7 separate regions of the Homo sapiens genome follow, and regions 2, 3, 4, 5, 6 and 7 are each linked to region 1. The links are contacts of gene promoters, found by promoter capture Hi-C in blood cells and fetal thymus (Javierre and others, 2016). All regions are on one chromosome and are shown on one strand. Each heading gives the region's core, a stretch centred on a gene start or on the middle of the fragment in contact. The rest is flanking DNA. Distances are from core to core; before and after follow the strand shown. Region 1 holds the start of ADAMTS6 (ADAM metallopeptidase with thrombospondin type 1 motif 6). Region 2 overlaps LOC107986419 (a long non-coding RNA gene). Region 3 has its middle 340 kb from the start of CWC27. Region 4 has its middle 350 kb from the start of ADAMTS6. Region 5 overlaps ADAMTS6 (ADAM metallopeptidase with thrombospondin type 1 motif 6). Region 6 overlaps ADAMTS6 (ADAM metallopeptidase with thrombospondin type 1 motif 6). Region 7 overlaps ADAMTS6 (ADAM metallopeptidase with thrombospondin type 1 motif 6).

Evidence for each region. Contacts are between HindIII fragments. The CHiCAGO score rates a contact against its expected background, and 5 or more counts as called.
Region 2: a contact is called between a fragment that was not itself captured here and the fragment with the promoter of ADAMTS6 in region 1, in 11 of 17 cell types (activated CD4 T cells, M0 macrophages, total B cells and 8 more). The highest score is 10.4, in activated CD4 T cells.
Region 3: a contact is called between a fragment that was not itself captured here and the fragment with the promoter of ADAMTS6 in region 1, in 16 of 17 cell types (naive CD8 T cells, megakaryocytes, total CD8 T cells and 13 more). The highest score is 18.5, in naive CD8 T cells.
Region 4: a contact is called between a fragment that was not itself captured here and the fragment with the promoter of ADAMTS6 in region 1, in 3 of 17 cell types (endothelial precursors, M0 macrophages and total CD8 T cells). The highest score is 8.5, in endothelial precursors.
Region 5: a fragment that was not itself captured here is called in contact with the fragment with the promoter of ADAMTS6 in region 1 in 1 of 17 cell types (endothelial precursors); the score reaches 6.4 in endothelial precursors.
Region 6: a contact is called between a fragment that was not itself captured here and the fragment with the promoter of ADAMTS6 in region 1, in 1 of 17 cell types (endothelial precursors). The highest score is 6.5, in endothelial precursors.
Region 7: a fragment that was not itself captured here is called in contact with the fragment with the promoter of ADAMTS6 in region 1 in 1 of 17 cell types (endothelial precursors); the score reaches 9.4 in endothelial precursors.

What each region holds. Positions count from the first base shown.
Region 1 is chr5:65,479,566-65,483,939 of GRCh38, forward strand. It overlaps ADAMTS6 (ADAM metallopeptidase with thrombospondin type 1 motif 6), which reads right to left and starts at 2,355. Exons shown (of 25, transcript NM_197941.4): 1 at 1,778-2,355. RefSeq lists enhancers at 2,108-2,467, 2,235-2,734, 2,508-2,557. The HindIII fragment of the contact is 619 bases long and covers 2,164-2,782 here.
Region 2 is chr5:65,067,462-65,071,835 of GRCh38, forward strand. The region is part of intron 2 of LOC107986419 (a long non-coding RNA gene); the gene reads left to right. Among named protein-coding and RNA genes, the nearest start is that of CWC27, 300 kb to the left of the region's middle. The HindIII fragment of the contact is 1,697 bases long and covers 1,706-3,402 here.
Region 3 is chr5:65,105,645-65,110,018 of GRCh38, forward strand. No RefSeq gene overlaps it. Among named protein-coding and RNA genes, the nearest start is that of CWC27, 340 kb to the left of the region's middle. The HindIII fragment of the contact is 5,582 bases long and covers 1-4,374 here.
Region 4 is chr5:65,129,789-65,134,162 of GRCh38, forward strand. No RefSeq gene overlaps it. Among named protein-coding and RNA genes, the nearest start is that of ADAMTS6, 350 kb to the right of the region's middle. The HindIII fragment of the contact is 5,026 bases long and covers 56-4,374 here.
Region 5 is chr5:65,151,149-65,155,522 of GRCh38, forward strand. ADAMTS6 (ADAM metallopeptidase with thrombospondin type 1 motif 6) reads right to left here. Exons shown (of 25, transcript NM_197941.4): 25 at 1-797. The coding sequence ends at 688. Among named protein-coding and RNA genes, the nearest start is that of ADAMTS6, 330 kb to the right of the region's middle. The HindIII fragment of the contact is 1,974 bases long and covers 1,348-3,321 here.
Region 6 is chr5:65,180,028-65,184,401 of GRCh38, forward strand. The region is part of intron 22 of ADAMTS6 (ADAM metallopeptidase with thrombospondin type 1 motif 6); the gene reads right to left. Among named protein-coding and RNA genes, the nearest start is that of ADAMTS6, 300 kb to the right of the region's middle. The HindIII fragment of the contact is 439 bases long and covers 1,509-1,947 here.
Region 7 is chr5:65,197,309-65,201,682 of GRCh38, forward strand. All of the region lies in intron 20 of ADAMTS6 (ADAM metallopeptidase with thrombospondin type 1 motif 6), which reads right to left. Among named protein-coding and RNA genes, the nearest start is that of ADAMTS6, 280 kb to the right of the region's middle. The HindIII fragment of the contact is 8,501 bases long and covers 1-4,374 here.

The DNA.
Region 1 (4,374 bases), core at 1,105-3,604:
TCTTTTTCTCCCCACTACCCCCAACACATATTCCAAATATGCTGTTAACTATCTCTTAATATGGTAACTCCCTTCATTCACTCACTAAAGTCACAAACTTGATAAAATTTGGCATAAAGACCCATCCTAGTTACTACTACTAGTGATTACTAAGGAAAGAAAGAGGAAGTGCTAAGAGTAGACAAGAGTAGGAATTAATCTTACAGGTATTGGGACCAGACATAAGGAGTATTACAGTATTTTCAGTCTTCAGGCTAGAAGTTTTTCTTCTTGGGAATCACAAAAATATTAAGACCACTACACAGACTTCATTTGCAGCTGTGGCAAATGAATGAATTTGATTTGTTTGAAATCAACGTATTTGCCTCTAAATGCTATTCTTCAAAAATTCAAAACACTAACGATCACATTTAAGCACAGAATTAACATAAACCAGACTGCAGTTACCACTTTGCTGCAACACAAGAAAACAATTATCTCCAAAATTAATTTTCTTAATTTCTTTCAACTACACCAATTTTGTGTTACGTTTCTTTTCCTGTCATGAATTCTGAAAACTGTCATCCCCACATCTAAACATTTCAGTCTAATCAACAGAAACTAAAAAGAAAGAAAAAAGAACAGAAAATTAGTCCACGACACTTGAACATAAAAAGAACATGTTGAAAATCACACTCAAGTGTCTCTTTTAAAGTTCCAAGCAATGGTTCAGTTTCCCTTTTTCTCTCTGCTCTGCACACCCTCACCTCCCCCCGCCCCCACCATTCCACTTCGCCCAGACAGAGGGTAACAGTCTGAGCTGCCCTGGTTGAGTTGATCCTAAAGTTAACATTCAGCAGCCCATTTCCAGACAGCAGCGCTAAATCTATTTGGATAAAACGCGTGTGACCCAGACAGTTGGCATCTGGCCCAAACGCGTTGCACCGGCAGCTCAAATAAAAACAAGAGTAAGAAACTCACTCTCTTGTTCCCTCTCAGTGCGCTTTCTCAATCTCTCGCTCACTTTTCCTCTAGTACAGGGAAAGAAAGCATCAAAGACAGGAATTGTAGCACATATTATCAGAAAGAGGCTTCCCAATACCCCATTCCTGCACTCTCACTCTCCCTCCTCAATCCCTGAACTTTGGTCCCATACACCATATATACAGACCTACCCCGATAAACAAGGCTCCGGAGGGTTATGAGTCTAGCACGTCCCAAGTGGCCAAAAGTAAATCAAAAACACACGTTTCCATCTCTTTGATTAGCCTATTAAGAGCTTAACATGTCCTAGAGCATCGGGGCTACAGCTAGCACATTAATGCTACCCTCTGAGCCCAGGCATAAAATATGCACTTGTCTGAAGACTTAACGACACTGACATGAAACTACAAAATGCATAAGACTTTTCTGTAAGAAAACTGGAAATCAATTTAAAACACACACATCATTATTACCTTCCGGATTACTATTTGGTGATCAGTTAAAAGATTACAATAATCATAATCAAGTCCACTTCACAAAACATGTATTGTATATTCATAAAATAAACGTATTTTTTTTGCATCATAAAATAACTGCAAGTCCCAGAATTCTACAACCCCCGACAAGTCTGGAGTTAAAAAGATATCTATTTGTAAAATGAGTTCAGTCAAGCTCACTCATTGCCATTAAAAAAAAAAAAAAAAACACACACACAGAAAAAAAGTTTTCTAAGCGTTATTCGGAAGACAAGCAAAGCACAAGTTGTTGGTTTAAAAAAAAAAAGCTCCATTGAATATTGTTAAGTCTTCCTTACCGTTTTCATCTTCAAATTCTGATAAAAAGTAAGTTTCAGACAATAGAGATTGCACTGGACGACTCACGTACTCCCTCTCCTCTCTAACTTTTTTTAATTTTTTTTATTTTTTTATTTTTTGCCCCCCTTTGCAAAGCCACACCAGCCAGTTATTCTGCAGCCAGAATAAAACCCTATGGTCTGGCTAACCCGGGCTTTAGAGAACTGACTTTCCGATTTGGCAGAATAAGAGATGCCTTCAATACATCTAGGCTATCACTCTGAGATGCTGCCTTTGCAAACCCCCTTTCTCTCCCTCCCCACCCCCCAAAAAAGGAAAGGAAAAGAAAGAAAAGACGGGAAAAAAGACTTATTGGGGGTGGAAGTGGTGCCCTCTCTTCCTGGAAAGCTTAGTGCCTTTGCTATGCAAATAACATGTGCAGAGCATCAAAAGGTATCAGGAGAAAAGAAGACAAGAGGAGCAGGAAGGGCAGCAAAGTTTTGTTGAAGTAGCCCTAGATCTCACTACCGGCCCCCAGCCAACTTGAATTGCAGCAGGAGAAAATTTTGGCAGCTTTTCCTCGGAGGCAGAGCACACTGACGTCAGTCTGCAGATGTGCCTGGGCTGCGTCGGGTGCGCATGTGTCCTGGGTCGTCACGTGGAGGGGGAGGGGAGGTAGAGGTACAATCGGGGTAACCAACTACCAGCCATTCAGAAGGGCTTAGACAATGTCAACTTTTCCACACTGTGAATGAGAGAAATTCTGGCCTCTCTAACCTCTCTGTCCTATCTCATTCCGCCTCTTTTCCTCCTCCTCCTCTAAACTCTCTTAGAAATTCTAGCCTGGTTTGCTATTAGTTGTTTCTTGGAAAAATGAAGGGGGAGGGAGAAGGATGAATGACTTTAGATGGACTAATGTCACTGTTAAGATCTCTGGTGTCATTCTCCGTGTAATTTTATTTTTAAAATCCACACAATCAAAATGTTAAAACTTGCACGCAAACAGTGCCTCTGAGGAAACTTAAAGCTTAGATTCGTGCAGCAGGCACAAGACTCAGTAGCTACAAGTGTACAAAATGCCTGTGTTTTATACATACTTCAGCAAGTAAGGTTAGCACCAAAAGGGAAAGTAAACTAAAGTAAACTAATACCAGCACATTTTCCATTTGATTATCGACTTCAGGTTATGTGGAGCTTTAAAAGAAGAAGAAGAAGAAAAAAAAAAAGTAGGGGAGGAGGGAGCGGGGGAAGGAAGAGAGAAGCTTGCATTATTTCCAGATGAGGGTGAGACTGGATGGTGTTTTAAAGTGCAACCGGGAAAAGCCACAAGTGGAGTGTATTTTTTTAAGTCAGTCCATTGAATGAAACTTCAATGACTGCCCAAATGAAAATAAATCCGAAGTAGGACCCCACCACCAAAAAAAAAAAGGAAGGGAAAAAAACAGGAACCCTGCTGCGATCTCAAGATAAACAAACAAAACCTCAAAACTGGTTCTTCAACCTTCCCAATCCCACCCTCCCTCCCCCCTACACACAAGCTGCCAGTCCAGACTTTAAGGATAAAATACCGCTACAATGTAGCACTTTCACTTTCATTTGCTGAGAATGAAAGCCGCTGGGGAGAAAATGCCCAGTGTTTTCCATGTCCTAAGCAAGCAAACAAAGTCTGGCACATACATCGGAAACAGGAAAAAATGTGAAAATAGCTCAGGACAAATGTTGCCTTTCAACGGTGTAATCTGCTGCATCATTTATCTGTCTCTACCATTGAGTGTAGAATAGGGAGCTGTTTAAGAGTTTCCGAGGTTGGGGGCAGGGGAAAATTGACGCCTTGAAATTCCAGCCCTTAGTTAATGCCAAGTCAATTTCCGATGGTGAGAACCAGAAAGGAGAACTGGACCGGAGGGAAGGGGGTAGGAAGGATGATCTTTCTGAATACCAGCTCTTAAATATCAAGCTTCTGCTAACATTATTGCCCATTTGATTTTTTTTTTTCTTCCTACGCCGGAGGTAGTAGGTGTAATTCTTCTGGTGAATCTATGAATAGTTGGCTAAAAGGAGGCATGAATCAGACTGAGAACGTCCAAGAATACAGTTATTTCAATTCTTCTTCAAGGGTTGAAAGTGGAAAGCATCTGTCCACAGAGTAAATAGTCCTCATCCTGACCTTAATCAGTAGTATCTGGCTAAAAGCCATTTAAAATGTAGAAATCTGTTCAATAGTGGGCATTGAGTTTTAAATAAAGATGATTCATATGTATGTATGTATGTGTGCGTATTTGTATGTGTATATATATGTGTGTACATATATGTGAAATACATGAGGTAGCAAAATATAGCAATAATTGTAAACACCAAAAATAAGAAAAGTAGGCATCAAATGACTATTTAAATAGTGTTGAACCTTAACCTTCCTTAATTTTTCAAGTACTGGCAGTAAATAGGGACAGCCAGCACACACACAAAAAATAAAGGTATGAGCAGTAAACATCTATATAAGCTCTGAAAAGATTTTACCCTCAACTAAGATAAACTGCCCTACAAAGTAGCAGCTTGTAGAGGAGCTTACTTAGTGGGAGTGGACTTTGGCTAATTACTTATTCAAAGAGTGCCATCC
Region 2 (4,374 bases), core at 1,304-3,803, 410 kb before region 1:
ATCCCACAATCTGGAATAGAAATCAGCAGCCAAAAAATGCCTCCTCTATACCTCAATCAAAACACCTATAAAAATCTAGATACCAGGAGGCAAAGTCTGGAACATAAACTACTTCATAATGTTGCCAATGAGTTATTAAAGTACAGAATGATGGAGCTGTTAGAGGCGTCTGGGCTACCGTTGCTTCCAAGCTCCATTCTTCGTTGTGTCTTTAATAAGGTATTTGGTCAAAATATATTGGTGACAACTCCTTTCTCTTAAAATCTAGCGAAGGATACAAGTCATACATTCCACTTAATCCTTTATAGACCACTAAAACTTAAAAATCTCTCTAGTAGAGAATGAAGAAACTTCAAGTACTGAGCTTTCAAATAAAGTGCAGAATGCCTGTTCATACTTGCATGATTTATTGGTGATGAATATCACTAATAATTTATATATTAATGTTCTTTAAATAGATGCTTACAATTCCTACATATGAATACTGTATCTAATTTAAATTTTAGGAAGCAAAAATGTCAGATTATAGAGCAGTTTCAAAATTCAAAATTATTCCATTGTATTGATAAATTTGGTATGGTTTTTGTTCCTTAAGATGCATTTTTTTAAAAAGCCGTAAGTATCTTTTTGTTTTTAAAAGCTCTCTCCAGAGGAACTGCCACCCATTAACCCATATTTAGTAGTATTTGATATCCTTATCATTACTTATTTACAATAATAGAATTTACTTCTTATAATTAGCATAACCTATGGCCAAGCAATTTCATGCCCAAGGATTTATTTCAGGCCAATAATTTGAGATGTATGCAAAGCTGTATAAGCAAAGACATTCACCACAAAGTTATTTTTTATTGGAAATAAAGGTACAACAATAGAAGACTGTTTAAACAAATTATCCATGTGATATAAACATAAACAATCATGTTATGGAAAAAATATCTAACTCATTGGAGAAAGTTCATAGTAAACTACAAGTGAAAAAGAAGATGACAAAGCAATATGCATCAAATGTACGTTCATATGGAATGACATCAAAATGTTAACCCAGGCTGGACAGTCTTGGGGACACCTGGAAATAATATAGCTAAGCTTTGAGAAGGGGGTTAAGGAACTGATACTGATGTGACCTCATTGACAGCTGTAGGCAGGTGATACTTAGGGGCATTTGAATATTAGAATTTTTACATGCGCTTTTATTGTGGAAGTAAGTAGCTTTCTATGTGTCATTACCCAGCTGAGGAAGGGATAGCATGGACATTTTCTGCTGCTCCTAGCCCAGTGGTGGTTTGGACAGGATCTATATAAGACTCCCTCTTGTCCTCCATTTGAATCTCTTTCCTTAAGTCAAGTGAGAGAAACTTGACTTCAGTATCATGCAGTGAGGTCCCTGTGTCCTCAACAGTAAAGCATTGCCATCTGCTTCCTAACATTACAGTGCTCCTGGGTAACCCCTGAAACTGTCTACATGTCCATATGATCCTGCAACGTAGAGATTTATTAGGATACTGTAAATAAAACTTGGATAAACAGAAGCAAGAAATGAGAGACCCCAAGGGCCAAAAAAGAAAAAAAGAAAGAAAGAAAGAAACGACGTAAGAAAAATAGACCTGCTTCATCAGCTTCTCTGTCAAACAGATATGGCCCATGATTTATTAAAATAGGAGCTTTTTCAAGGCATGATTACAGGCAAGAGAAACCTGAATAAAGCTTTTACTTAACAGTGTCTTTGTGTGCACTGGGGGAAATGTTTCTGTTGGACTTTTCTATTTGGACATCCTGTGGGCTCCCCAAGCTCAATGCTTTTGAAGTAGGGATCATTCACTTCTTTTTCTGAGCATTACTCTTTAGACAGCACCTAAATAGAAGTGACAGGTCAAACAATATGGATGACTAAAATCTCTGCAGTGAGGAGAGATTAGGGAAGAAGACCAAGCATAGACCTTTGGGACAGGCCCACATTTGAGGGAGAGGAAGACAGAAAGGAAATACAAAGAGATCATCCAAGAAGTCAGAGTATGAATGAGTCTTTTCTGTGTTAAACAGTATAAACATCATTTTCTTTAAGGTGAAAATTTTAGTCAAAAATATAGTTTGAAGACAACATAGTTTTGTGTGATGCTAATGGATCTTTGCCTAGGGCTAAAATAATCCAGATGTACTGGATAAAACAAAGTAGAACTATACTTAAATATTTCCAAGAGCTCAACTATTTCACTCTCCTGAAAACCTTAAAAAAATCCTTCTCAAGGAGGTAAGTAAATAATTACAGGCATATAAAGGAGAGCCAAAATCTTGAAAGTATCAAGAAAAATCTACAAATGAGTATACCTTAAAAGGGTGCTACTTTCTTGATAAACCAAAAAATTCTCATTCTTAAAGATTACATTGACATTTTTGCTTGAAAATACAGTATTAAAAGGTGGGTGCTAATGTGGGTTGACTTTTGTTTCCTAGGACTAACGGTTGTCTGGCTCACTCTGCACTGAAGTAACCAAAGGGCTGGCTTATTCAGCAGCAATGCTGGGAGCATCCTTGGGACTAGAAGATTGAAAACTGTTACCTCTGTGGTCTCTGAGGCTGGGTTCAGACTAGAGCAATTGTGCAGTGAATTTGGCCCATCTTGGGGACTTTGGCTCTCAAATGGCAGGGACTGTTCAGACTAAACTAGAGGTTATTTTACAAGGACCATCAAAATTCTCATTTGCATGTGTGAAATTCCTGTGGAGAGGCTGGCTTTTTCAATCAAGCTGGTTGGGCCAGATTATAAGTGGAGTCTGCTAGAGTGCATGTGAACAGCATCAGACAGCTCTCAGCCCTTCCCCGTTGGTCTTTCCCTTCTCTGGTGGAAATCACCAACAGTTTAGTGACACCTAGCACCTTCTATTCCCCAAGTGGAGAAGTGGTCTTCTAGCTAACAGGAAGACATCAGGCTTTCTTAAAACAAATTTTTATCAGCAGCTACCACCACCACAATGATGTTCATTGAGCACTTATATTGTGCTAAGTGTATTACATCCGTCATCTCTTTAGAGCCTCACAATCCTCTATGAAGTTTGATATTTTTTATTTATTTATTTATTTATTTCGAGATGGAGTCTTGTTCTGTCGCCCAGGCTGGAGTGTGGTAGCACAATCTCAGCTCACAACAACCTCCGCCTCCTGGGTTCAAGTGATTCTCATGCCTCAGCCTCCCAAGTAGCTGGGATTACAGGCACCTGCCACCACGCCTGGCTAATTTTTGTATTTTTAGTAGAGACAGGGTTTCACTGTGTTGGCCAGGCTGGTCTCGAACTCCTGACCTCAAGTGATCCGCCTGCCTCAGCTTCCCAAAATGCTGGGATTACAGGCGTGAGCCACTGTGCCCGGGCGATATTTTCATCGCTTTTTTTTTTTAAAGGAGAAAGCTTAGTCTCCATTAAGGTTAACTTATCCCAGGTCACACAGGTTGAAGGAAATGGATTTGGATGCAGATAGTTTAAATTGCACACCCATACTTTTTAAGCCTTTTTACATGATGCCATGTTGCTTCCCTATTAGTAGGCTGGCCTCCACTGGCAATTAATAGCAACAATGAACACTGGGCTCAAAACCAAAAGCCTGGGCAATATGGAGCAAACCATAAATTTGATTAGGAATCAGTTACCTGTGTCATTTTTGTCTTATAATGGAGTTGTGTGGTTCACAGGAGCCCTACCACTTCTGGATGGTGTCATAATTCTCACAAAATCTGGACCTTATGGCAGAAGCCCTGCCCCATCCCTTTATTTTCCATGGTATCCCTTTATTTGATTCCAGCTGCTCTGGGATTCAGAGCTTTCTCCATAGAGGCTTGGGAGGGGGAAGAAAGCAACCTATAAATAAACTCCGAATTCAGGCTGTTGGGGACAGTGCCCATAGCGTTGCAGGTGCACAGTCCAACCCCAACCACTGTTTCCAGTACAACTCTAGGGATTGTGAAGAAAATGGGCCAATTATTCTTCAGCTTGGACATTCTTCTGAGGCCAGGACACCCTCGGTCTGGGAGCTGTGTGATTCAGGTCTCTAATGTCTTTTTCAGGGAGGGAGGCAGCACAGTAGTTAAAAATTTCCCAGCTCTCAGTCCCTCCAGATCATCTTCCACATGTGAAGAGGGGGTGTCCTGCACTCATCACCTGGACAGCAGTCTGGCAACCGCTGGCCAAAGTGGTTTATAACATCTGGATTATTGTTTCCAGATGTGGCATTGAAATACTTGATTAAAAGTTTCACACACAGCATCTTGTAATAACTGACATATGCACAGAGAGTTTCTATCATCTGGAGCCAGGGTGGAAGCAGCAGGGACACTCAGAAGATGAGAGAGAGCAAGGACAGTTTGCAGGATCTAAGCGGCCT
Region 3 (4,374 bases), core at 641-3,140, 370 kb before region 1:
AATTCTATCACCTGAATATCCAGAGTGCTTTTGTGTCTGCCCGGGACTGCCGGCATCTTCCTACAGCCTTCCTGGTAACAGACCTTACTTCCTTGACCATTGGGGTGACCATGTCCCTTAGACAATGCTCTTATCTCTCCAAGGGGAGAGGTACTTTGGCCACAGAATTGAGTCCAGACATTAGCACATGATCCGAGCCCAGCCAATCCCAGCATTTCCTGGGAACTTGTATTCTGAATCTATTCTGAATCAGAGACAAAATGTCTCCTTTAGTTAGAAGCTGTAGAGATGTGATCTCAGAGCCACCAACAGGCCATGTACCCTACCAGGCCTGAAAGATGAACAGCAAACTTTCCAAGATGCACAGAGATGAGGGCAAAAGTAGAAAAGGGGTCCTGGCAGCACTCCATTCCCCCATCCATCCCTTGCTGGCCAGCAGCTCCCTTGTCTTTCTGTGATTCAGTTACTGAAACCAAGAAGTTTCTCATTTTTAATTGAACTTTTTGAGGTGGTTTCTGTCTCCTTGAAACAATTCTGATTAATAAATCAAATCTGTCTCATCCAGGCCACTGAAAGCCTTCTAACTGATTTCTGCAAACAACCTCACACCCTTTTATGCCATTCTCTGGTGCAGCACCATGACCTTTCTAGAACTCAGTCTTATCAAGATACTCCCGACCCAAACACCCAGATTTATTTCCAAGGCTTATGAGGCCCCTCACATCCTCACTCCTGCTTGCTTCTTTTCCCCATCTCTTGCATTCCCTGCTCTAGTATTCCTGAATGTCCTTCAGGTCCTCAGGGGCAGTGCTCTCTCTCCTTTAGGCCTTTGTACATAGTGTTCATTCTGCCTAGTTTCTCTTCTCCAGCTAATTGCAACTTGCCCTTAAAGTCAAAGTGGGAATGTTACATTGTCAGAGAGGCTTCCTCTGACTCCTAATCTGGGTTAGCTATTCTGTATTTCATTGATTACAACACTGCTTTTCACACATCTTAACGTATCTACTTGTGAAATACCTTACCTATCCCCACTAGTCTATAAATCCCTAAGAGCAAGTCCATGTCATAGCATCATAGAACTTAATACTTTGCTGGACATAATGAATTAATGATACCAGCTACCACCTATTCTCAAATGTGTATTTCCCCGTTGGGTTCCACATATATACAGGTGTCCTTCTGTATTTGTGGGGGATTGGTTCCACCACCTCCTGTGGATACCAAAATCTTTAAATGCTCAAGTTTCTAATATAAAATGGTGTACCATTTGAATATAACCCACGTACATCCTCCCATATGCTTTGAATCATCTCTAGATTACTTATAATACCTAATATAATCTAAATGCTATTTAAGTAGTTGTTATACTGTATTGTTTAGAGAATAATGACAAGGAAAAAAGTCTATACATGTTCAGTACAGATGCAATTTTTTTCTAATATTTTCAACCTGTGGTTGGTGAATCCAGGGATGTGGAACCTATGGATACAGAGAGCTGATTATATTTCTGACTGTATCCCAAACTGCTCCTCTTCCTGTGGTCCTTATCCTCCAAGGAGCACAATCTAGAAGCCTAGAGTCACTTTTTTTTTTTTTTTAGACAGTCTTGTTCTGTTGCCCAGGCTGAAGTGCAGTGGTGCCATCTCAGCTCACTGCAACCTCCACCTCCTGGGTTCAAGCAATTCTCCTGCCTCAGCCTCCTGAGTAGCTGGGATTAGAGGCGTGTGCCACCACACCCAGCTAATTTTTGTATTTTTATTAGAGATGGGGCTTCCCCATGTTGGATAGGCTGGTCTCAAACTTCTGACCTCAAATGATCCTCCTGCCTCAGCCTCCCAAAGTGCTAGGTTTAGAGGTGTGAGCCACCACGCCCAACCCTAGAGTTACTTTTTGATGCCTCCTTTCTCTCCTCCAATATCCGTTCGATCAATAACATTTGTCAGTTACACTTCTAGTCTCCATCTATGCCAATCCTGTTGGTATAGAAGTGCTAGCCTCCAAACTTGTTACCTTGATGAACTGCCTCTCACTTTAATCCATTCTGCCCATTCAGCCAGTTATCTTTCTAGAAATGCAAAGCTGACTGCATTCCTTTTCTTAAAGTTCTTAAGTGATATACTCAAGATGGAGTACTCTGTAATGATCTGGCCCCAACTGACATTTTCCAGCTCACCTTCTGCCCCTTCTGGACATGCCCTGACCAAGTTACCTCAATGTTGTGTTCCTGATACAATATCATGTCATTATCTTCCATACTTTTGTCTCTTTGCATATGTAATTCCTTTTGCATAGAATGTGTTTCCCTTGTCAGCCTGGCTGGCTTAAGACAATTGAGATCTAGGAAATTTGCCATAACTTCCTCCGGCAGGTTTGAGGTAGTTTTCTCTTATTTTCCCATACTGGCCAATCTATAGAAATTATGATAATAATGTATTACATGTATACTATACGCTAGTCCCTCTGAGGCTAATTATTAGTCTATGTAGATTGGCATCTCAGTAAAGAAATTGAGCTGAAGAGAGGTTAAGTGACTTCCTGAAGTCTTCATGGTTAATCCCTTTCCAGTGTCAGGTATCAAACCTAGGTCTCATGGCCCAATGGTGCGATCTCGGCTCACCTCAACCTCCGCCTCCCTGGTTCAAGCAATTCTCCTGCCTCAGCCTCCTGAGTAGCTGGGATTACAGGCATGCACTGCCACGCCCAGCTAATTTTGTATTTTTAGTAGAGACAGGGTTTCTCCATGTTGGTCAGGCTGGTCTCCAACTCCTGACCTCAGGTGATCCACCCGCCTCGGCCTCCCAAAGTGCTGGGATTACAGGCGTGAGCCACCGTACCCAGCCTAATCATCTATGTCTTTTTACCAATTTACCTTCATTCTGGGACACACTCTTAATGAATAGAAAGTCAGGTGGAATCACTGACTGTTGTAATTTTAAGTATGCTATTTGTCTAGGCTTTTTTTGTTTACCATATAATGAATCACCTTTATTGAAAATAATACAATTAAGTAAAATCAGATTGTTTCAAGAAGTTTGGAATACACAGTTTCTATACCTGTGTAAGTCACCCTAATTTGATTTGCAGCAAAATCTTCCTTTAACTTTGCAAGGTCAATTTTATAATGTATAACAACAGGCATTGAGGATAAAAATATCATTCTTATCTTTTAATTTTCTTTCTGAATCTAGATTTTAGTTTTTTTCCTCCCCCAAAAATCACCATTTTAACCATTTAAAAGAGTGCAATTCAGTGGCTTTTAGTACATTCACAGGATTTTGTAACTATCATCATGATCTAATTCTGGAATTTTCATCACCCACAAAAGAAATTCTGTACCTATTAATCAGTCACTCCCCATTCTACCCTCCTTCCAGCCTGGCAACCACTAATCTGCTTTCTGTCTCTATTGCTTTGCCTATTCTGAACATTTCATATAAATGGAATCATACAATATGTGGCCCTTGTGTCTGGCTTCTTTCACTTAGCATAATATTTTCAAGGTTCATCCATACTTTATTCTTTTTTTATGGCTGAGCAATATTCCATTGTATGGATATACTACATTTTGGGTATTCATTCATCTGTTGATGAACACTAAGGTAGTTTCCACTTTGTGGCTATAACGAGTAATGCTATTATAAACAAGCATGCACAAGTTTTTGTTGGAACACCTGTTTTTAATTCTCTTAGGTATATACCTAGGAGCAGAATTGCTGGGTCATATAATTCCATGTTTAACTTTTTGAGGAACTGCCAAACTATTTTCCGTAGCGGCTGTACCATTTTACATTCCCACCAGTAATGTATGAGGATTCCAATTTTTCCACATCTTCATCAACACTCAATTTCCATTTTATTATTATTGCCATCTTAGTAAGTGTGAAGTGGTGACTCATTTTGTGTGTGTGTTTGATTTCCCTAATGACTAAGGATGTTGAGCATCTTTTCATGTGCTTATTTATCATTTGTATATTTTCTTTGGAGAAATATCTGTTAAATCCTTGACAGTTCTTTAATTGGGTTGTTCATCTTTTTGTTGTTGAGTTGTAAGTGTTTATGTATTCTAAATACTAGACTCTTATCAAATATGTAATTGCAAATATTTTCTCCAATTCTGTGGAGTGTCTTTTTACTTTCATGGTAGAGTCCTTTGATGTATGAACGACTTTCATTTTTATAAAGTCCAATTTATCTATTTTTCCTGTTTTTGGTGTCATATCTAAAAATCCATTGCTAAATCCAAGGTTGTGAAGATTTCCCGTATGTTTTATTCCAAGAGTTTTAATCTTTATATTAAAGTCTTTAGTCTATTTGAGTTAATTTTTGTATATGGTGTGAAGTGAGGATCCAAATTCATTCATTCTTGCATCTCAT
Region 4 (4,374 bases), core at 1,319-3,818, 350 kb before region 1:
TGTTTCAGATGAAAAAATGTCCCTGTGGTTTATCACTCTGGAATAATCCATGACAAGCTTAATTTCTCTCCAACTTGAAAATCTTTAAGATATTTAAAGATATTTAAGATATTTAAAGACAGGTATAAAGATAACCTGCAAAGGTTATCGTAGGACTGCTATAACAAAATACCACAGGACTACTATAACAAAATACTGTTCAGGACTGCTATAACAAAATACCATAAACTTGGTGGCTTTTAAGCAACATACATTTATTTCTCACAGTTCTGGAGGTTGGGAAGTCCAAGATCATCAAGGCACCAACAGATCCTGGCGAGGGCCCTCTTGCTAAATGGCAGTCCTTTCTGTGTCCTCACAAAGCAGAAGAGGGCAAATAAGCTCCCTCAGGCATTTTTTAAAAGGACACAAATCCCATTCAAGAGAGTGGACCTAATCACCTCTCAAAGGCTCCACCTCTTAATACCATCACATTGAGGATTAGGTCTCAACATATGAATTTGGGGCCTGGGATCCATAAGCATTCAGACTGCAGCAAAGACATCTTCATGCCAAATATTCTCTGATCCAAGACCTTGTTCTTGAATGTTGTCTCCTTACCGTGGTATTTTTATGTGTTCATTCTCTAGTTTATCTGTGTCCATTACTCTGGGGTTTTGAACACAGTCTCCAAATACAGCATGAGGCTGGGCCTGGTGGCTCATACCTATAATCCCAGCACTTTAGGAGGCCAAGGTGGATGGGTTACTTGAGCTCAGGGGTTTGAAACCAGCCTGGGCAACATAACAAGACCTTGTCTCTATTAAAAATTTAAAAAAAAATTAACCAAGCATGGTGGTACGCACATGTATTCCCAGCTCTTCAGGAGGCTGAGATTGGAGGATTGATTGAACCTGGGAGATCAAGGCTGCAGTGAGCTATGATCATGCCACTGCACTCCAGCCTGGCTGACAGAGCAGGGCCCTGTCTCAAAACAAACAAGCAAAATCAAATCTAGCATGAGTGAAGAGTTGAGAAGTACTGCTTTGCTGGAAAGGAAATATCTAGGTTTCCTCTCTTAACATTTTTCTAATATTTGTATGTATTTGGAAAATACCTATTCCTGGAAGTATTTTGTCTGTAATTACCATACAGAAAAGAAGACCTCATTAATGTTGCCTTTCTTGTACTATCTAAACACTATTTGATGCCAGAATATATACACATATTCTGAAAAATATACTACTTAGAAGAGATGAAGCCCCTGCCATTTCCTAAATAAATAGATTATTTAATTATTAGGAAGATTAGTGAGAGGGCTCAGCAGTTTGTTTTCATTGTTTTGCTCTCCTTTACTAAACTACAGTATTAGTCCTGCACATGACTTATATCCTATTTTGATGTTTTAATTCAAGGACCATATATTGAGTGACCATTATGTGCAAGATGTTGTGTCAGACACATTTCGATGTTGTATTTAAGTGATAGTTTGAGGAGCTTCTGCTTTACTGGCTGTGTACTGTCCCCATTGCTTATGAGATAAGGGCTAAGATTTTTCATCTGACCTGCAAGGTTCTTGACGGTTAGCTAAGGTTATTAGAATTGCAAATAGAAGTGAATTCAAATCTAGTGTGAGTTTAAAAAAGAGAACGTGGTATAAGAATTTAGGAGGGCCTCATGGAATAGCAGCGAAAGAGCCATGATTAACAAGGGACTGAACTCAGACTCTGCGATGCTGTCTGGAACAAAGGCAGCCACTCTCTCTGTGGGGCCAGACAGACTCTCTTCTTTGGCTGTCTCTCTGTGGCTGCTTTCTCTCCAATTTATTTTTTTATTAATTTTTTTTTTTGAGGCAGGATCTCGGCTCTGTTGCTGAGGCTGGAGTGCAGTGGTACCATCATGCCTCACTGCAGCCTTGACCTCCCAGGCTCAAACGATCCTCCCACCTCAGTCTCCCACATAGCTGGGACCACAGGCATGCACCACCATACCCAGCTAATTTTTTTTCTTTTTTGTGGAGATAGGGTCTTGCTTTGTTGCCCAGGCTGGTCTTGAACTCCTGGACTCAAGTGATCCTTCCCGCTTGGCCTTCCAAAGTGCTGGGATTACAGTCATGAGCCACTGCGCCTGGCCTCCTCTCTATTTAAATCAGCATCCTCTGTGCCTCCACACACATGGCAGATGTCCACCCCACAGAACACAAGTGTATGTGTCCTGCAGGTGCAGCCATACACATAGATGGGCTGCATCCTTGAATCCCAATTCCACATTCCCAGGGAAATTCCACTGGCTCATCTACACCAAGGTTCCACGCGATTAGCTGCAGGTGAAGTGGAAGGCCAAGCCCGTACATTGACAAGGATGGTGGGACAGGACCACCTTGAGATCTACAATAAGCCAGGGTAATGGTGGAATAGCCCTGGGGCACCCACAACCTTACATCTGACACATAGAATGTCATTCGAGCCTCAAGTCAACACACAGGGTAGGGAAGTATGAACTCCACTTTACCTAGAGGGAACTGAAGCCAGTGATGTACAGACAGGTTGCAGAAGCAGGGGTAGGACTCAGCTCTTATGATCCCTCATCCAGTGCTCTTTCTGCCAGTGTCACCTTGGCCCTCTGGTTAACCGTGCTTGGAAGATTCTTCTCAAGACAGGGCCACTGTGCTTCCGAGGGAACTGTAGCCAGGTTTCTGAGGCACAGGGCTTGGAATATAATCTTGTGTAATATTCCAAGGAACAGATGTAAACAACTGTGATCATCCCGGAGCAATACCATCCAAACCCATCTCCCTGGAGGACTCTGCCCATCAACAACAATCTTGTCATTTTGGCCAGCTGGTGCGCCATATTCACTATGCCATGTCTCTAAGGACTGGCAACTCCTCCTGGCTTTGTATTTTATCCTCTTTGCTGGCTTCTAGTGAATTTTTAAAAAACTGAGTATTTTGCCTCTTCAGTTAAACTAGTTGGCTTCCATTTAATTTTTTTTAAAAAAATTCAATATATTGATTTTTCCTTTTACTGATGATCTCTTTGGCAACCATGCTTGTAGAGAAGCCATTTAGTTTTCTGGTTAAGTTGGACTAGCGTTTCAAACTGTCCCAGACTAGCAGCCCCTGTGGGCACTTCCAGGGGTTCTGAGCCATGCGCTCATTTTCAGAGATGGGGCTGGGCCGAGCCAGCCAAGTGTGGAACCTGTTGTTCACACCTGTGTTAGCCAGTGCCTCAGATGGCCAACAGAGCCCTGAGGGGTGAGTCTCTCCCATTTGCCAGGCTCGGCGTTGCCTGTGGGGCCCAATGGGGAGAGCAGAGGTGTCTAGTGTCTATCCGCTCCCTCCAGCAGAGGACACTGGGGAAGTGGAGCCACACTCACCTCCTGCTTGGCTGTTTCCCTGCCCCTTTTTGGAAAGGTCTCCATTTCACATTGCCAATCGTTTGCCAACTTAAGTTCCAAGCCAAAGCCATGTTGGGCCTTTGAATTTTTGGATGTTTGGCAGGTGACATTTGTATCAGAAGAGTCCCGTGGAAGAGGCAAGAGGCCTAAAACATGCGTCCCTTGGTTGCAAGGCAGGAAACCTAATTCTGGGGCTGTTTGCACCCTACAACCATGGAAGAGCTGACTCACACCTCCATAACTCAACCTCTCCTCCTCAAAGATGGGGATGATGTGGTCAGTCAGAACTTTCTGAGGCCACTGGACACATTCAGAAAGTGTGTTCAAGAGTACCTTGGCCTGTGGGATAAAAAGCTCTCTGATCATAAACAAGCATGATTACTTATCATTTTGTTACAACTTCTCAACCAGGCCAGACTTGGACTGCTGGCTGAATCCCATTTCTCTCCTCTTGGACTGAGTGCCTGAACTATTCAGATCCAATGTGTCCTTCCCTCCTGACAGCCTGCCAGGTCTCCAGTGATATTTATTGACCAGCCTGGTGCATGGGGCACACCATTGGCAGCTTAGACTACAAACTCCCCCAGCACGGATTGTTTCTCACTCTGTGTTCAGCACAGTAACTAGAAATTAGCAATCAAAAATAGTTGAGATCATCATGTTGGGCTGTTTTCTGTCTGGCAAGTGTGTGCATCCTGATCTCTGCCACAGACTCTCCTAGGAAAAACCTGCTGTCATTCCTTCTGTCTGTTCCCTAGCCCAGGGGACAGCAGCCTGCATTTTGTGGGCAGCAGCAGCTCTCATGACTGTACCTATTTTGGTCAGACACTGAGGGAACAGGCAAGAATTCCTACAGAGTTACACAGGGGAAGAAGGGATCTGCCCCACATTTAGCAACTTACACATCTCAAGTGAGACGAGGAGAAAAATTCTGAAGATTGGAATAGAAAAGAAAACCAAGAATAATGGAGAATGTATTCACACGGGCTAAAGACA
Region 5 (4,374 bases), core at 1,085-3,584, 330 kb before region 1:
GCTTTAAACTATGCCCCTCATTATTGTTCAGTTTAATATAGTTTTATATATGGCTCACAGCAGTGTTCAGAACCAGGGGATTATTCCTAAGGAAATTAAGTGGAATGAAGAAAAATAATACAAACTTTCATTACTTTTGATTTATAATTGCTCCTTAAATTATAGTTCAAAGCCCGTTTTATAATTTAAATTGTGGTGCTGTTGTAGTGAGATAAAGTACAGTAAATATTTTTAAGCTATGACTTAAGAATTCTGAACCTTCTTCACTTCCATAGTTGACCAAGTCATAACAGCTACATTTTAAACAGTTTTAAATACAAATGGATTCAGTGTCATTGCTAAGTCCATAATAAAAATTATCTTAATGGTCCAAGGAGGTAAACAGGCTATTGGATTTACTCGAAAGAACACAAACGCTCCACAGTAAGCAAGTCTCCCTGTGTTGTTTGGATCTCTCCAATCTGGCATTCCCTCCTAATACCGTGTCCAGCACTTTGGATCAATAAATCCCACTTCACAGAAGCTAAAATAATATTGAAATTTTGTCAGCTAGGGCTGACCAGTGGTTACGTTTTCCACAGGGTAATGCATTTGCAAGGACATCAATCCTCTTCCTCTGGGTGGCTCTCTTTGATGGATGCATTTCCATGATGAAATGACAAGGCACTCTCTCTGGCTTTCTGTGGGTCAGTGTCCTTGGCAGGTCTTACAACACATCTGTCTGAAGTATGCTCGACTGCAGAACTTGAACTTCAGCACCAGTGGGCAATAAGCCACTTTATTCACATCTTTGCACTCTAACGAATGGGGGCAGAAAATGGAAAACAATTAGAGGCACATAAACAAGTACATAAACAAGCCGATGGGCCTGCATGTTCAGCAAGGACCCCCTTTGGGCCAATCCACCTTGGCTTCGACCTCCATGTGGTTTTTGTTTTTGTTTTTAAGCATACCCTGCCTGGTACAGTCTACTAGAAATATTCTTTTGATATATTTTAACACAATTTAAAAAAATGTTTGCAAGGCTTTCCTTCCAGATTTTTATAAGTATGGTGTATGCCCACTGTGTCTTGAAAGAATTACCATTTGCTAGGATAAGTGATCACTTTAGACAGCTTGGAAACATGAGTCATTTTTCTTACAGCACTTTTATTGCTTCTTTCTCAAGGGTTATTTTATTCAACAGTGCAAGGTTATCCAAAATCAAACATGAGTTGCATTGTTTGATACCAAAGTACACGTCTCCAGAGAATCTCTGCATCTGTGAGGCGTGGGGATGGGCCTGGGTGAATGAAAAGGATTGCTGAGAGTGGCCTAGATTCAGCAACTACACTAGACAAAGAAGAAAGCTTTGAGGGGTTGGCCTCAAATGGCAGCAGTCTGTGGGTTATGGAAACATGTAGAAATGTCTTTTTTTAATTTGGAAGTGAGACATGGTCTTCTTTTTTCCTATGTGTATTTTCTCCTCAGTGCTAGAACTGCCACAGTTGCAGTCTGCAGTTCTTGCAGCCAGAAGGTGAATAAATGATTCTTTCTCCATCTCCCCTTGAGGCTGGTTGCAGAAGGTGGGATGAGGGTCCAGTGTAGAGAAAGGGACATGGGCCTTTGATTCTCAGAACTCCCCCTGGCTCCATACAACCCCACTGCTAGCAATAATATTCTTTTCCAGTATTCTGGTCACTTTTGTTTGGAGACTTTAGGATACTCTGTAAACTTAGTAATGAAATTTTCACATGCCTGCTAGAACCAAAGTTCCACCCTCATTTTTCCAGGTAGTTATACTGAAGCATCCTGGGTAAATTGTTGAAGGTAATTAGGAATCAGGCTGGGCAGTGGGTAATGTTCAGTGTTACAGACAGTTTTTGTTGTTTGCTTGTTTTTTCCTGGCTTCAAAAACCCACTGAAGTTCTAAGAGATCAGATACATTGTAGTTTATCACATGAGCCATATGATAAACATGGAAAATTAAGTACAAAGACATGGAAAAGTTCCCAGTTCTTATTATTGAATATGAAGATAACAATCTTATTGATCTCAATTTTTAAAGGCTCCTTTGGTGAAAGTCTTAAAATTTGAAACTGGAACTCCCAAATCCACTGAAAACATCTCTGCCACCACCCAGCTCCCTTACTCAACATTTCACTTACAAAGAGATTAATAGCTAGAAATATGAATTAAAACTTTTCACACCAGGATTCTCAGTAAATTTAAGTTTTAGCTGGAAGAAGGTAGAAGAGGGACAAATCACTTAACCTCTTTGTGCTTAAGTTTTCTCATCTGTAAAACAGAAATGATTAGAGAACCCACACTCAACGTGTAACATGTAAGACTACACGTGTATCCTTACGAACGTCAACTACAGCAGTGCCTGGAACACAGGAAGTATGGGATAAGTGTAGGATACTGAATTGCTATTATTATTACAATTATTAGTTATTAGTATCTTTATTGCCTGACAGAAAGGAAGCAAGGAGTTACTCTCCAAATATCTCAATGAGGATGCAATATTTGAACTACTACTAAGAAAATACTGCCCTAAAGACACAAGTCAGTTTGCAGACAAAACAAAGTGGAGTATTTCCTGGGGAACAACTTCATTAGATTTACTACTCCATTTTTAGAAGAGTAGCTGGACCAAGAAAACTCTGAGTTGAGCAAATTAGAAGTAAATTCACCAGTTTAAATTATAATACATAATGAATGAAATAGAATATTCATAAATTGCTTCTCCCTTCACCTGCCTACCCACCCACCCATTAAGGCTATTATAAATAGTTGGCCGGGCACAGTGGCTCACGTTTGTAATCTCAGCACTTTGGGAGGCTGAGGTGGGTGGATCACCTGAGGTCAGGAGCATGAGACCAGCCTAGCCAACATGGTGAAACCGCATTTATACTAAAAATACAAAAATTAGCCAGGTGTGGTGGCACACACCTGTAGTCCCAGCTACTCAGGAGGCTGAGACACAAGAATCACTTGAACCCGGGAGGCGGAGGTTGCAGTGAGCTGAGATTGTGCTACTTCACTCCAGCCTGGGCGACAGAGCTAGACTCCGTCTCAAAAAACAAACAAACAAACAAAAAACTCAAATATGAATAGTCAGGGATTTTGTTCCTTAGATGAGTGCTAGAAATAAGACTCTTCTCTACATGCAGAGGCCCAGAACACAGCCTTTTGTTCAGAGGCAGTATCTAGCCTGTGGGCAGGCTGGAGGCCAGCTATCAGGATGTTCCTTTCTGAACTTCCCAATACCCTTGTTAAGTTAGTTCCCACTTAACTTGATTGGAAGCAGGAAGTCCGTAGGTTCTGGGAACAGGATCAAGCTTAGGGACGTTGGGATTATGAGTGTCCCCTGAGTTGCCTGCAGCGGCAACACAACCCAGTAGTTAGGGGCAGGAGATCTGGATTCAGGTGGGCCTGGGGGTGAATTCTGGCTCTGCCTCTTCTAGGAGTTGATTGTCCTCTGCCAAGTTACTTCACCTCTCTAAATCTCAGATACTTCATCTCCAAAATAAAGACTATGATAAGGTCTGCTCATAGGATGTTGTGAGGTTTGCATGAGGTAATACAGATAATGCATGTGCCATGGCACCTGGCTCAGAGTAAGCATTGTTCATTAGTTCTCATTATTAACAGCAAAACATCTGCCTCTGAGAACAACTATCATGTATTATTTCTCTGGGATCCCTGTCAAAATAAATATAGTCTCAGAAAGGGTTACACATTTACGCATTTAAGCAAAATATCAGAAAGCTATTAAACAGAAAGCAAGAAAATTATGATGAGGGCAGGAGTGGGGAAAGACCTGTGGGAGATCTGGAGACTTCAGGACTCAAACATTAATATGGAGATTCCTAGGCTGTATGGAAGATCCGGTTCCTACTTCTTGGTTTTGCCTTCTAGGAACTGGCCTGACTAGAAGAATCAGTTCATTACATCTTTAGATTTGATGAAAATCTATTCACCAACCACGACTCATCTTTTATTCTCTTTTAACTCCACAAGAGCTTAATTTAGTAGTGACAGCATTAAAAATTATAATTTATCAAGCATATCATTTGTGTAAGGCACAACATAAACATATATTATATATATATGTTAATCCTTTTAAGTTCAGTCATGTGTTGCTCAATGATGGGGATATTCTCTGAGAAATGCATTGTTAGGTGATTTTGTCAATGTGCAAACATCTTAGAGTGTACTTTCACAAACCTAGATGGTATAGCCTATTGTACACCTGGGCTACATGGTATAGCCTATTGCTCCTGGGCTACAAACCTGCACAGCATATTACTATACTGAATATTGTAGGCAGTTGGAACACAGTGGTAAGTATTTGTGTATCTAAATATATAACATAGAAAAGATCCAGTA
Region 6 (4,374 bases), core at 478-2,977, 300 kb before region 1:
ATATGCTCTTCTTTATCTGGAAAGGTGACAATTTTGATTTACCATTAGGTAAATCAAGATGTACTAGTTGTGGATGAGGCTATCTAGGTGAACACCGTGCACATGTACACACATGGATTTTGTTAGGGGCAATCTTTGAGCCTGGAGTATGTCATAGAAAGACAGAAAAATATTAACAAATTTTTCAGATGAACATCAATGATTCAATGCAAACTCTTTATCACAATGAATATAATCACAGAATGCATTTCCTCCAACTTAGAAAAGGTTTCATTAAGATGCATTTTGAAAGGGGATAACACAATTTTTTCAGTGTAGCTCGAGAAGAGGCTTTAGTTAGGGAGTGAAGATCAAGAGAGAAATTCCTGATTCCTTTTATTCCTTTTCATAGCCAAATCAATATCCTCATAACCTGGTGCTGCCTCACTCTACCCCTACAATCCATCACTAGATCTTATTAATCCAACTCCAAAATCTGTCTCACACCTGTTGATTTCTCTCCATCTCTACTGCCACTAACCTTACTTCAGACAAACATCATTTCCCATATGAAATTTTGTAATGGCTTTCTAGTAGGTCTCCTGTTTCCTCCTCTTGCCTCACTCAAATCCACTCCCTAAACTTTAGTCAGAGGGATCTTTCTAAAGCACAAATCCAATTATACTGCATTTTGATTTAAAAAAAAAATCCCTTAATGGCTTACTATTGCCTTCAAGATAAAAATTCAAACTCTATATATGCTTAGTACCCCACAGTAGTAAGGCTCTACTTACCTCTTGAGGCTCATCTCTCTATATGTCAGCCATATAAAATAATTTCCAATATTCTCCAGTGCTAGCCCAGTGTCAGGCACAAAGCAAATAGTGTTGCTGTTGCAGCTACAGTAACTACTACTACTACTGCCACTAATAGCATCTGTCATTTAATAAATACTGTATATACCAAGTGTGCTAAATGCTATAATTTATATAGTCCTTACAACTCTCCTATGAGGTGGCAATTATTATTCTGTTTTTAAAATGAGAAAACAAACTTAGAGTGACTGGTAAAAAGTCACATATATATTAAATGGTGGAGCCATTCTAATACTAATTCTTACTAAGTGTTTTCTGGATGTCAGGCACTGTACTATGTACTTTATATGTATTGTCTAATTTAATACAACAATCACTTATATTTCAAGAAACCAAGGCATGCAATAATTTCTGTAGAATGAATAAAGACCTAATCCAAGTCTTTGAGCTTGCCTCACTTGTGTCGAGTCCATTTCTATCTCTTGAACTTGTTCCACTTGTTTTAATCCTCTTCGCTTCATGCCAAGTCTCCTCCACTGTTCAAACCAAAGACTTAAGAGGATTTCTGCCACTCTCTTAAAGCTTAATATTATCACTGGTAACAAAAACACTACTATACTACTTTACATTTCATTAAAGATGAACAGTTCAGAAAATATTTTCAAATATTAAACATTATTAAACAAATTTTTAAGAATTATTATAGATGAGGAAAGCTTAAGAGACTTCATTAAGGATAAACAGCAAATGGTAAAGCTGGAACTAAATCCTAGGCCTTGTGACCCATACTTTAGGGCCTACTCATTATCCATTTCTCTGTTATTATTGTATTCACAGGCTGCTCTTAGTATTGGCAGAAACAAACTCATGACAATACATAGTAAATATGAATTATTGTAAGAATAAGTTGAGGTGAAGTCCAAGAGGATACAAGGCCACTTCATCCACATGCTAGGCAAAAACATATAGGATGTATACGGAACTCAGTTTTTGTATTTCGAGGCTATGATTAGTTTTCTAACGGAAGCATTCATTGAAAAATGCACTTGTGCCACTCCCCTGCCTCCTTCACATTTTAAAATCATGTGTATGCATATTAAAGTCTGGGACATACATCTCTTGTTTATTCTAATAACTTTTTCCAGTGGCAAGAAGCTTCTGTTATTATTTTAAGAATGTAGTAGTATCTAGCTGCCTTTCCTAAAATCATATGCCAGGTCGTGCTTACAATTAGGGGAGATGAAGAATGCGAAGAAAGACAATTCATTCATCTCCATCTGAGAAGTCCCCAGGAAACCCAAACCAAAACCAAACCAGATATGACTGATAATAAGAAGGATAAGCCTGGGTGCGGTGGCTCACGCCTGTGAATCCCAGCACTTTGGGAGGCTGAGGTGGGTGGATCATGAGGTCAGGAGTTTGAGACCACAGCCTGGCCAACATAGCAAAACCCTGTCTCTACTAAAAATACAAAAAAAAATTAGCCAGGTGTGGTGGCACGTGCCTGTACTCCTAGCTATTTGGTAGGAAGAGAATTGCTTGAACCCAGGAGGCAGAGACTGCAGTGAATCGAGACCGTGCCACTACACTCCAGCCTGGGTGACAGAGCGAGACTCCATCTCAAAAAAAAAAAAAAAAAAAAAGAAGGATGAGAAGACATAGCAGCACAATATTTATTGTGTCAAGTAGTGTTCTAAATCCTTGGCATGTAATAATCTACCTAATCCTCATAGAAACTCCATGAAGTGAGTACTGTTACATATCCATTTTACAGGTGTGGAAACTGAAATGCTAAGAGGTAGAAACAAATCCTGATGGCAGTTTCCTACTAAAAATAAAGCTCTGAAAGATACATGCACAAAGACTAACCCTCTGTAGAACAATGTGCAGTTATGTGTAAAGCTAAACACATAATGACATTTACTTAGGCAAGAAATCATTTTAGAAAAATTACACCTCAAAATTCACCATTTTAGCCAAGGATATTTTATCTTATAGTAACAGAGGTACAGAGATTTTCAACCATATTTTCAAGAAAATGACTGAAAATCAACCAGATTTTCAAGACAGTGAATGACTGAAAACTACATTGCTGTCACATTTGTTACTCAGTGAATACACTACACCTGAACCCTGCAGATCCAGCCACAAATATTACATGTCTACAGCCAGAGTCTCAACTCTGTTCTCTGCAAATATTGTACTTCTTACAGGTGATTATAAAATTAAATGTTTAAAAATTGCTTGTAAAAATAGTAAAGGCACAGAAATGCCACTTTAACCTGGTTCATTTAAGTAGAACTCTAGCAAGTCCTTCTGACCTTATGTCAGAGATGTTCAAGCAGAGAAGTCCTCAGTTTGTTTTTATATTTACTTATTCCTTCTGCTTTCTTGAGCCTAAATTTCATTTTTCCCTCTTTACCCTACTGATAAATACAGAATCCCTTCCTTATCCACAGTTTCATTTTCCAGTTTCAGTTGCCAACAATCAACTGAAGTCTGAAAATAGATGAGTACAGTATAGAAAGATATTTTGAAAGAGACGTTACATTCACGGAACTCTTTTTACAGTATGCTGTTATAATATTTTAATTTTATTATTATTATTGTTAATCTCTTATTGTGCCTAATTTATAAATTAAACTTTATTATAGGTTTGTATAGATAGGAAAAAAGTATATAGTATATATAAGGTTCAGTACTATCTGCAGTTTCAGGTATCGACTGGGGGTCTTGGAACATGTCCCCTGTGGATAAGGGGGGACTACTATCAATGTGTTTGTCCATCTGAAGTCCTCTGTTTTACTTAGCTATGTAAAAGATAAAAATAAAAATAAAAAAATAAAAATTTCTAGAAAAGCAAGATGAGCCACGGTTACGTATGTATAGACATGTATGTTATGTAATGTATAGACATTAATTTAATTATGAATGCTTCGGAGCAGTCTCCAGAGATAATCATTAGCCTATACCCATGCAAAGAGTATGTTTTTGCGTAACTTTTGAGTGTGCATTAAAATCTATTAGTAATAATTAGAAATTGGGATATTTAGTTCAATAATAATTTTTTTAGATCAAAGAATAGTTATAAACATCAAAATTCATCTCATTCTTTCTCATAATAAACCTTTAGGTAGCAGGGTAGAAGATATTATAAAATTTAGAAGACTAGTGGTCAGTCTATTCTTTAGTAAAATTATTTCTCATTATTTCTCCTTATGTGGGTAAATGCCTATTTTTTCCTCTTTATTCATATAATTAGAATCTCATGATCATTTAAAATCCGACCAGACCTTCTGTTTTTTGTTTTCATCTCAGTGACACAGGAGGTGACTTTTATGAGGGATGCATTTATGCTTCAGCTTAATGTTCCATGATTAAGAAGAAGCAAAAATATATTTTGCAGAAAAAGTATTTGAAACCAACCAGGGAAAACAATTTGGCCCTCACTTGTAAAGGACAGAAACATCAACATTTCGGGGTTACACTGAGTTCTCCCTGGAGAGATGGGTTTAAATTACTTAGTCAAAGGACCAGAGTAGAACCTAGGAGTATGCAAGGTGCTGACACAATTGTCTTA
Region 7 (4,374 bases), core at 1,391-3,890, 280 kb before region 1:
TCATTATACTGAAATTTTAGGCAAAGTTATTTTTCTCATATTTAGAAACGTAACTATTTCAAGTCCAGAAAAGAAACTATTGGTAATCTTAAACAATTTTATTCACATTTGTAAATTCTTCTTCGTGCTTCCCTTAACAAACAAACAAAACAACAGATTACAATTTCCCAAAATAATATTATCAAATAAAATGTACAAATATGCATTTCAATGCAAAACAATGATTGTATATTTATTTAAAAATAGAACAATAGGGACAAATTTACTTTTTGATATTTTGTAGAACAAATCCCATCTATTTAGTTTTTGTTAGGAATACATCACATCCACACATTTCATTTTTTCTTCCGTTTATATATTTATCTCTCTAAAAGCCCATTCATTGTTTAGAAATTAGAGATTGCAGTGGGCCTCTTTTGGACTGTAACCAACTAGTCTGTTTATTCGAACAGAGTTGACCCCTGTTGATTATACCACTGTCAAATACATACATACACAGTTCATTCAAATATTAATTTATCTCATTTTAAAAAATTAGTCTATGTGATATGTTTACCACAGCTAAAAATATTCTCATACAGTTTATAAAATATTAAATATATGTCAATTATTGGCAAAGATATTCACCATAACTTGCTCACATTTCACAAAATATAAAGACACACACAAACACACACTCGTATTTGTAAATGTTCCTGATGAACAGATTTTATGTATACTCATTTTCTCTTTAGTGTCAAGGAAACAAAAGAAGCAGACAGGTATATCAAGATATCAAAGAGAAACACGTCAAACTACAAGACAATGCTAAATGTTTCAGATCATATAGCGGTAACAGGTTACTCCTGGCAATAGAAATAAAAGCACACACTAAGCTATTCCCCCACTCACCCACCCCATCTCTATAAACAGGTAGGCTAAATTACCCAGAAAGAGTTGTAAAAGCAGCATTAGCAGTATCCAGGAAACCACAGCTTCACACCTAGCTAATCCCACACAATCCTTCAGTTGTTTTTCTTTTTTTTTTCCCAGTTGTTTCAAGTAATAATGCCCTAAAAAAACAGTGTGATCACAAATTAGGGAAATATATGTGAAACAGGATCATTCAGTGAAAGAAACTGTCACCTAAAGAGCTACACACCAAATGCTTCCCCCAAGTTCCCCTAAATCATAGAAATTCTGCAGGTGGGAGTGCCTCCGTTATCATGTTATGCACACCTACCTTTAACTAAGCCCTTTAAATTTAAAGACTGACAGGGCAAACTATTAAATCCACCAAGCTCATGACACTTAAATCCTGTAGCTTCCATGACAGTGGTGAGCAGTTAGTCTTTTTTATTGCTTGCACTGACCCAGGGCTCTTGCTGATCACCTTCTGCAACCATTTTTTATGTTTTCCTAAACTTAGGGGTCTTAAACATAGTCAAACAACTTACTGGCAAAATGTCCTAGAGTATGTATTGTATTCCTTCCCTCCCAACCCCTAAAATAAGCCAAACAATGAAGTTTATGTGACGACAACAGTTTGGAATTTTTTAACTATTAAACTTTAGAATTTTTGAGGGAAGAATGATTCACATCAGGCATAGTTGTGATCCATTCACAGATGTTCCATGATATTCATCGGATATCTCCCCATTGTGTCATTCCAGTGGGCAGATAACTAGGTCCATGTGGTCCACCTAGACAGATACCTCTACCATTAGTCATAGGAGTCAACTACCAACTCCAACAGTGGCTCAGATTATCCATCCATCCTGGTTCAATATTTTGCCTCTATCAGGGACAGCAGGGGATTTTTTTTTATTGGTTAGTGTGATTATTTTTTTTTAAGTCATTCAAACATGACTATACTTGAAACAAGAACACTGGCATCCAAAACATATCTTGGTTATTTCTCAGGAAGGAATAAACATTCTCAACACTACAAAATACAACTGATCTGGTTTTGTTTCAGTGGCAGAAACATTAATTCAGTTTCCTTGACTTGTAGAAACTGAATTAAGTCAAGATAAAATTCTTCTTTCTCTAACTTAACCCTAGAAATGTTGTTTGGCTATAATTACATTTGTTTTCAAAAGTAGCCTTTATTGCAAAAGCAGGGCCTCTGCAATTTGAATCATAGATGAGATATGAGTTAGTAGAGCTGTGATTTATATTTCATTTTATGATAAATTCTAACAATGTATGTATCTTGAAAAAAATTTGGTACATAATATTTGTTATCAAAAATTTGGAAAATTACACAAAACCACAAGGAAGAAATAAAACTGACCCATAGTCCAATATTTTGTTTCAGACCCCTTTAATTTCAGGGCTATTTTGCTCTTTAGTGGGATCCAGTAATTAGTTTAAAAATTACATGTATACCCAAACTAAAACTGTCAGCTAAATGTAGTTGGCAGGTCATTCATTCATTTACTCATTCATTCATTCATTCAACAGAGATAGTTACTAAACCAAAGCATTGTGTTTATGAGATATAAACACAGTATCTCTTGGGAGATATTGGGCTAAGTGCTAAGAATTATGAATTGACTTAATTTTGATCATGCCTTCCTTCCATACTTCTTAAAAACTGGGAATCAAGAGTACTTAGGTGTTCATTTTAGCTTCATGATTTCAGAATGCTATTTTTTATGAAGTAAAAATTAAAGTCCTTGAATAGACAGCTGAAATTGCTCTATATTTTATGAAGATGCATGTTTTCCTTACATTTGTCTTTTATTAATTTTCTTCTAGAATGTTATATTAGACAGTGTGGTATTTCACACTCAAGAATTGACTATATCAGTAATCTATTCCAAATCTTCCTACAACACTGTACTATCTTCCTCCAACAGCATACAAAGCTCCTTCCAACTATTACTCCCACACTTGGCAGGTTTACAGATTTTTTTTTCTTTTTAAGTCAGTAGCAACAGGATAACTCTATAAACCAAGGCATCTAAATGAATGGATTTTTAAACACATACTTTTGAATTAAGGAAAATGCAGCTTTTAACTTTAGAAAGTAGAAAATACAGATCAACTGGAAATAATCTAAACTAAGTCCACAAGAGAAATGATTGAGTTTAGATTCTTTTTATATGATCAAGCCTCTTGTACATAACTTCTTTTAAAGTAGTCTGTAAAACATTGCTAAGATGTTGATTTTAAACCCGGTTGGGAATAATTACATCCAGTTACACGAAACCACGATGCTTTCAAATCTAAAGACTTATAGTTTATAACCAAAACATAAAATGTCCACATGACCAGTCAGTGTGTACCTAATCAAAAACAAAATTCTAGTGGCTTAGTGTCCAGATCCCCTGGAAATAAGCAGATGTTCTGCAGAATTTAATAAAAATACACTAATTGTATTTTATTCTTAAACACCTAAAGTTACTGGCATGCAAACTGTATGTATATGTTTTTTTAATGCAATCCTTCCTCCATGCTTAAAAAAAGTAATGGCTTCATATTACGAAAGTTAATTATAAGAGATGATATTGCCAATATATATTTACTTTAAACCCTCTACAAAAGGTATATTCTGTTTAGAGACTTTTAATTTGCTTATCTTTTTATTCTTTGATACTAAAGATTCAAATATGATGGTCCTTACCACAGAAATGTAACCCTCACTTTTTGTCCATAAGTTTAAATGTCAGATCCTATATTTAATTTTCTGCCAATAGTTCAAAGTTAAAGATCTATTTTCCCATCAAAGGTTCTTTTATACAATGGGAAGAAGGCATATTCCACTTGAATCACTGCTCTAGCTACATATCAAGAAATGGCTTTAATGGCATTTTTATACAGTATGTACCAAAGGAAAAGGTGCAAGAAGCCCATCAAATGGCAAATGAGTCCTGGATGGAAACCATCTGCTGTTCTTACTCTAGGGGGTGGTGATGGTTCAAGTGAGTCCCAGTCTGAGCAAAGAGTTCAGAGACCATCGCTCTTCTTCATTTCTTCCCTCCATTCCAGTCCCTCTACTCCTCTTATTAGCTGCCCAATGTTCTCATGTGTTCCTATCTTTCTCTTCTTTCAGAGAATTAAATAATTTTGTAAACTCATTTGTAACATAGTATTTGGCAATATATTGCTTTTCTCAGGGCAATTTACCATCTTAAAAGTAGAAAGAAGGCACTCAAGGTACAGAAATTACAACTTGAATTTAACTTGAAAGGGTGACATGTGTTAAACCAAGAAGGATGGGTCGGGGGTGGTTAAGGGCAGGAGAAAGACTTTCTAAGTCTTCTCAACTCTACTCATCAGTCCCATCATTTCAGTGATAGACCATGTAATGGATAAATGGGCATTCTACAACCTCCTGTGAATGAGTCAACAATAAAAAGAAAGAAATATAAATGTATTCTTGGAATT